Regions from separate parts of the Homo sapiens genome. Here region 1 is linked to region 2. The links are contacts of gene promoters, found by promoter capture Hi-C in blood cells and fetal thymus (Javierre and others, 2016). All regions are on one chromosome and are shown on one strand. Each heading gives the region's core, a stretch centred on a gene start or on the middle of the fragment in contact. The rest is flanking DNA. Distances are from core to core; before and after follow the strand shown. Region 1 holds the start of PLPP1 (phospholipid phosphatase 1). Region 2 overlaps MAP3K1 (mitogen-activated protein kinase kinase kinase 1).

The links. Contacts are between HindIII fragments. The CHiCAGO score rates a contact against its expected background, and 5 or more counts as called.
Region 1: the fragment with the promoter of PLPP1 here is called in contact with a fragment that was not itself captured in region 2 in 1 of 17 cell types (fetal thymus); the score reaches 6.3 in fetal thymus.

Annotation. Positions count from the first base shown.
Region 1 is chr5:55,533,336-55,536,576 of GRCh38, reverse strand. PLPP1 (phospholipid phosphatase 1) reads left to right here and starts at 1,613. Exons shown (of 6, transcript NM_003711.4): 1 at 1,613-2,005. The coding sequence starts at 1,948. It also overlaps the pseudogene RNF138P1. RefSeq lists an enhancer at 1,091-1,160 and a silencer at 1,391-2,030. The HindIII fragment of the contact is 4,109 bases long and covers 442-3,241 here.
Region 2 is chr5:56,824,828-56,827,986 of GRCh38, reverse strand. The region is part of intron 1 of MAP3K1 (mitogen-activated protein kinase kinase kinase 1); the gene reads right to left. Among named protein-coding and RNA genes, the nearest start is that of MAP3K1, 11 kb to the right of the region's middle. RefSeq lists an enhancer at 2,113-2,623. The HindIII fragment of the contact is 3,904 bases long and covers 1-3,159 here.

The DNA of each region.
Region 1 (3,241 bases), core at 364-2,863, 1.3 Mb after region 2:
CCTTGCAATCTGAGGCCCTTGTAACTCTGGAAGTAAAGAAAGCTACATGATAAACAATGGCACATCTTTCTCAGGTGTAAATTGCTTAAAGCTTTTACGGCTATTTAAACAAGAGGCAAAATAAAACATTAGCATTCGTTTTAAAGAAAAACATCTTTCTTCAAATGTATATTTTGTTTTTGAGAGCTTACTTGGGGCTGTATCTCCAGACTCTGTTTAATGTTATCTTTCCATTGGCTTTATGAGTGCTTTGCAGGATAAGTCGAAGAAGTAGTAGGCACATTTTGTGATTTGTGTTTTACATATTTAAAGAGAAAATATACCAATCATTAACATCTGTAGACGGTTTAACTCTAGATAAAGCCACTATCATATAATCTTTTCTGGGTTTCACTTCTTCCTCCAGACTGGAACACTGGGCAGCTTAAAGCTGTAAAAGCTTTAAGCAATTTACACCTGAGAAAGATGGGCCATTGTTTATCATGTGGCTTTCTTTACTTCCAGAGTTACAAGGGCCTCAGATTGCAAGGTCACAATAAATTCAAAGTACTTGTGATGTCTGAGTATTAGGTATTTATTTAAAAAATCCCCATTTTACATATTAGGAAACTGAGATTACTAAATGTGGGCTAGGGTCCTCCTGGGTATGGGGCAGGGGGAGTGCTTGCTGCTGTTAAAGAAAATTATCCTGACACTTGTCAAACACATGAATAATTTATTCAAGATTATTACAATAAGGGTCATGACTATTGGAACAGGAGAGAGAAATTGAGCTCAACTCAGAATACAGCAAAGACAGCAGGGGATTTATAGCCAAGGAACAGGCACCGTGTCTGTGAGGGAGGTGACGGTGGATGGAAAATTACTAAGAGGAGACATCAAGGGTAGAGGGATTCTGGCTAAAGGCAGGTCAAGGGCTTCTACAACAAAGGTGTAATATAAGGAATCTAATCCGATATTAAATATCAAGAATTCAACGGTGATCAGGTATCGAGGATGGATGATTTAGCATGCTTCTTGCTAACATTTGGGCTCAGCCAGGACACAGGGAGGTCAACGTTGAGGCCTAAGTGAGAAAGGGCTCAGAGGTACCAAACTAAAGGAGAGCGTCTCTGTTCCTGCCTACTCTGACCTCTTTTCCCCCCTTAAACTCAGTGGTAACAATCTGACCTGTTTATTACCTCATCCCCATGGAAGGGGTGGGGAGTGGCAGGCAGCCGGTGCTCTAGGATCGTTGGGTAGGGAGCCTAGCTCTCTGAAAGCAGCAATGCCTAGTGGGGGTACCGAGGCCGAGTTCGGAGACCACCTGAGCAATTGCGGTCCAGAGCAAAGCCCCCTGGATCGGAACGGGAGCCGCCCCCACGCCCCGCCCGGCTGCCGAGAGCCGCACTTCTGGGCGGATGCCGCAGGTCGGGAGGGATGAGGCCGACGGCGCTGATTGGCTGACCGCCGCGGCCTGGGGTTTCCCTGGCCCCGCCCCTGCTGCACTCCCCCCGCCCGCGAACCCGCGCGCTGCCCGGTCCTGCGCTGCTCAGCGGGAGGGGCTGGACCCCGCGTTCCTCCTCCCTGCCGGTCCCCATCCTTAAAGCGAGAGTCTGGACGCCCCGCCTGTGGGAGAGAGCGCCGGGATCCGGACGGGGAGCAACCGGGGCAGGCCGTGCCGGCTGAGGAGGTCCTGAGGCTACAGAGCTGCCGCGGCTGGCACACGAGCGCCTCGGCACTAACCGAGTGTTCGCGGGGGCTGTGAGGGGAGGGCCCCGGGCGCCATTGCTGGCGGTGGGAGCGCCGCCCGGTCTCAGCCCGCCCTCGGCTGCTCTCCTCCTCCGGCTGGGAGGGGCCGTAGCTCGGGGCCGTCGCCAGCCCCGGCCCGGGCTCGAGAATCAAGGGCCTCGGCCGCCGTCCCGCAGCTCAGTCCATCGCCCTTGCCGGGCAGCCCGGGCAGAGACCATGTTTGACAAGACGCGGCTGCCGTACGTGGCCCTCGATGTGCTCTGCGTGTTGCTGGGTACGTACGCGCCGCCGGGTCCGAGGGGCGTGTGCGGCTGTCCCGGGAGGGCTTTAGCGCAGAGCCGCGACGGGCAGCGGGGGTGTGTTGCCTGACGCGTGCGCAGCTGTGGGGCGACACACGGGGGCGGCTTCTGCAGCCGAGGGACCCCGCTTTGCAGCCTGCACCCCGGCTCCCGCGTGCCCGCCGCTGTCTGTCGCCCGCCGGTGCGATGAGCCCAGCCCTGCTTGGACGCTGTTCACGCCTCTGCGCTCCATACCTTGCTCCTGTCCTCTGTTTGCAGTTCCACTCTAGCAGAGCAGGGTGGGCTCCTCCCCTCTGTACGGTAGAGGAGCCTGGTCACTGGCCCATCTCAGTAGTGAAACTGGAGGTTTGATGCACAGGGGATTCTCAGTAGCAGGCGCCAGTGCCTGATTTATCGTGAGAAGCAGTTTAATATTTCGGCTATAAAAGGCTAGAACTAGTTCCTAATTAGAAGGTGTGCCAGGTTGTAAATTGTCAGGTTGCAAGTAGGGATGAGCACGCCAAGTTTTTGCGTATAGGTCTAAAGAAGTTTTGGGGGTGGGGGAGGATGCGGTACCCCAGACCTGTTTCCTTGTCTGCCCAGACCTTGCCATGGTGTAGCTTTCCATCTCTTGTGACAGTGTCTCAAGGAGCAGTAGACATTCTTTGGCTGCAGCAGATTTCGCATTGTCTTCCTGATTGGAAGAGTTCAGTTATGAGGCTTCTGGTTGCCAGTTACTCCTTTCTTTTGAAGAGAAAGAACTGGAATCATTTGGATAAGGGATGGGCGTTGGAAGGAGTAGTTTTCACTTTTTATGTATTGTATAAGGCAGTTATGCTGTGAACTATTTATATATGATGGAATAAACAAAAACAAAGCAAGAGCTGCTGGAGGTTTGGATAGTCCTACTCATGTTGAAGTAATCAGAATAGTAGTAGTATTGGCAAGTTCTCAGGGTGGGAGATCTGTGGCTTTAGCCACCTGGATGGAAGTCTGCGTAATGGTTTCTCAGTGACAGGAGATTCCCTCGGTTTTAATCCAGTAGTTCCTAGTTATTCCACTCTCCAGTTTCCAACCGGGTCATTTAGGCCCTTGCAATCTTGTGGAATTCTTATAAATTCTGTTACCAGGTTTTGTTGTTGTTGTAAGGAAAAATTCCATTTTGTTATCTTTTTTTTTTTTTTTTGGATACAGTCTCTCTCTGTCACCCAGGCTGGAGTGCAGTGGCGGGA
Region 2 (3,159 bases), core at 155-2,654:
TCATTATACCACCAACGACCCCATTTTAGAGACAAGAAATTCAAGGTTCAGAGAAGTGACTTCCCTGGGGTCCAAGTAGCTAACAGGTCTAATTCCTAGGGCCCAGGTTCTTTTTTTTTTTTGAGATGGAGTTTTCGTCATGTCACCCAGGCTGGAGAGCAGTGGCGCGATCTCAGCTCACTGCAACCTCTGCCTTCCAGTTTCAAGTGATTCTCCTGCCTCAGCCTCCCAAGAAGCTGGGATTACAGGCACACACCACCAAGCCCGGCTAATTTTTGTATTTTTAGTAGAGACGGGGTTTCACCATGTTGGCCTGGCTGGTCTCGAACTCCTGACTTCAGGTGATCCACCCGCCTCAGCCTCCCAAAGTACTGGGATTACGGGCGTGAGCCACGGCACCCAGCAAGGCCCAGGTTCTTAATCACTACAGTGCATGGTCTCTGAAATGGAAACATGTAGTTCCAAAACCACATTCAGGACCACAGTGGATGGAATTCATTTTGCCATGAGAACACTTCCCAATCTGTGAACCTCTGAAACTACATGGAGCTACTGAAGTACAAAAGCCACAGCTCCCAGATTTGTGACCCCAGACTGTCTTGTCCCAGCTCTGATGTAAATCCTTCTTGGGGCCTCCTGACCCACTTCCTAACACTCTGTGGTTACCTGTCAAATTACAAAGGCTTTTTTATTTTGTCCTAAGCGCTGAGATTCAAGGATTGGCCAGTGGGGGCAATACGAGGCAGAGAGCTCTGCGTGGCTCTCTCTCTGGCCAGAGCCAGAAATCGTGTCCCAGCTTGGTCCCTGGACCCTGCCTCCACTCTGGCCGAGTTACCTGAACTACACTTGCAGTCCTCCATGCCATCCTAAGACTGCTGATTTCTGGGCCTGTGTGTTCTCCACCCACCCCTAGGCCACAAAACCTCCTTGCAAGTTCCTTTCACCTGGTTCATTCCTCCACGTTTATCGGGACTTGGCTTGGTGCTCCACCTCACATTTCCCAAAAAAGCCTCCTGATGCCTCCCCGACTCACAGTGGACGGGGGCCTGCACTGTCTGTCATCAGGTAAGCTCCTCCACAGGCAAGTGATGGAGACTTCCCTCCTGCTGTGTCCCCAGCACCTTGGTGCCTGGCTGGCAGCTCTGAGTGTTTCTTGAAGGCATGGACATCTCCTCAGGAGTGACAGCAGGACTGAAGACACATGCTCTAGCATGCTTACTCATCTGCCCTTTCATTTCTCAGGAAAGAACATCCATTGATCCCACAAAAAGGGATGTGAGTGACCTGCACATCTAACGTGCTTGCTCACCTACAACCTGTCAGCTTGCTGGGACCCTGTCTGTGGAGGTCCAGCAGCTGACATAAATCTTGTGATGCTTACATCGTCATCAAGCTCTCTGCTTGAAGTATCTGAGCACATCTGTTGTCTGACCTGTGAAGGTCTCGGATTATTCTCAAGGACAGTAATATGTAGGTTGGCAGCAACATTTTTTCCCTGAGACCACATCTCTGAGCTTTTAACACAAAATAAGAAAATCTGATTCACTTTACAATAATGTGTGCTTTACAAACATCTCTTTGTGAACACTGTCGTTCAGAAAGACCTGACTACATGTACAATGATAGAGAAAAAAACTAAAAAGGCTTAAAAGTAGCAAATCTAACTCAGATATCGAGGAACTTGTTAAACCAGAGCTCGGCAGAATTCACAGTACAGCACTGATTTCTACAAAGCCACATTTATTTTTTAGTGGAATACCAATAATTCTTTATTGCAAAGAGAATAAAAACAAAACAAACAAAACCTCACCACGGAGCTGGAAAGAGTATTCTAGATAGAGGTAAGAGCATTGGGCACGCCGAGAAAGAAGGGTGATCAGCTGCAGGACAGAGCTGGAATTCAGCTGGTCAACAGTCCAACCAGAGAAGCCATTTCAAATGCCTTATCTATGTATTCATGCCAATACTTCTTATAAAATAAATTTTTAAATAAAAATTGTTTTCTTTAAAAAAAAAAAAGAAGAACGGTCAGTTGAGGGACTAAAACTGAGCACGATGCTGAAATGACGGGAGCAGACCATTCTGAGGGGCTGCTGAAAGTGAGCAGAAGCCTGAGTCCTAAGGGTTTCTGAACTGCATTATGGAGTCTGGACTTCATTCTGAGGGTGAAGAAAAGGTTGACAGTGGGTTGACAGTGGCCTGACCCTGGGTTAGCAGTCATGGCAGTGGAGGAAGTTGGATGGATTCTCAGGCTACTAGGAGAGTGGCAATAACAAGAACTGGTGACTGATTGGAAGCTGAAGGTGTGAAAGCCAGAAGAGTAAGAGCACAGCAATTAAAGAGACAATGGCAGTGTTTACCCTGATGGGCACCCTAAACCACATGGAGATCTGAATGCAAGGATGAAGAGGCTGAGCAGGGCAGAGATGCAGCCTGGACATGTGACTGCCACAGTGCCTGGCAGAGGGGTCCCTCCTGGAGGAACTATCCTGGAGAAAGTTGTATGCAGGATTCTGTCACAAAAGCCAAGATGTCTTAGGCACCACAGTATCAATGAGTCAGCAAAGATACGGCTGATAATCTCTTAACAAATCCTTTTCTTCCTGGTTAAAGACTAGCTTTCCTTCAATCTTTGTACAAAACTTGAAATTTGGTTATTTAAGAATCTAGACCTGGCCGGGCATGGTGGCTCACACCTGTAATCTCAGCACTTTGGGAAGCTGAGGCGGGTGGATTACCTGAGGTCAGGAGTTCAAGACCAGCCTGGCCAACATGGTGAAACCCTGTCTCTACTAAAAATACAAAAATTTAAAAAGTTGGAAGTGGTGGCAGGCGCCTGTAATCCCAGCTACTCAAGAGGCTGAGGCAGGAGAATTGCCTGAACCTGGGAGGCGGAGGTTGTGGTGAACCAAGATTGTGCCATTGCACTCCAGCCTGGGCAACAAGAGCGAAACTCCATCTCAACAACAACAAAAAAAGAAGAATCTAGACCCTTGGAGCAAGAAAAATATCTTTAAGACTCCGTCTCAAAAAAAAAAATAAAAATTTTTTTTAAAAAACCGGAAAAGATCAGTATATTAGTGGTAGTGGTGATTATTATGCATTTTAAAGAAACTGCAAGGTATAAAATGACTCAGGTCAACAATAACAAAAAAGATT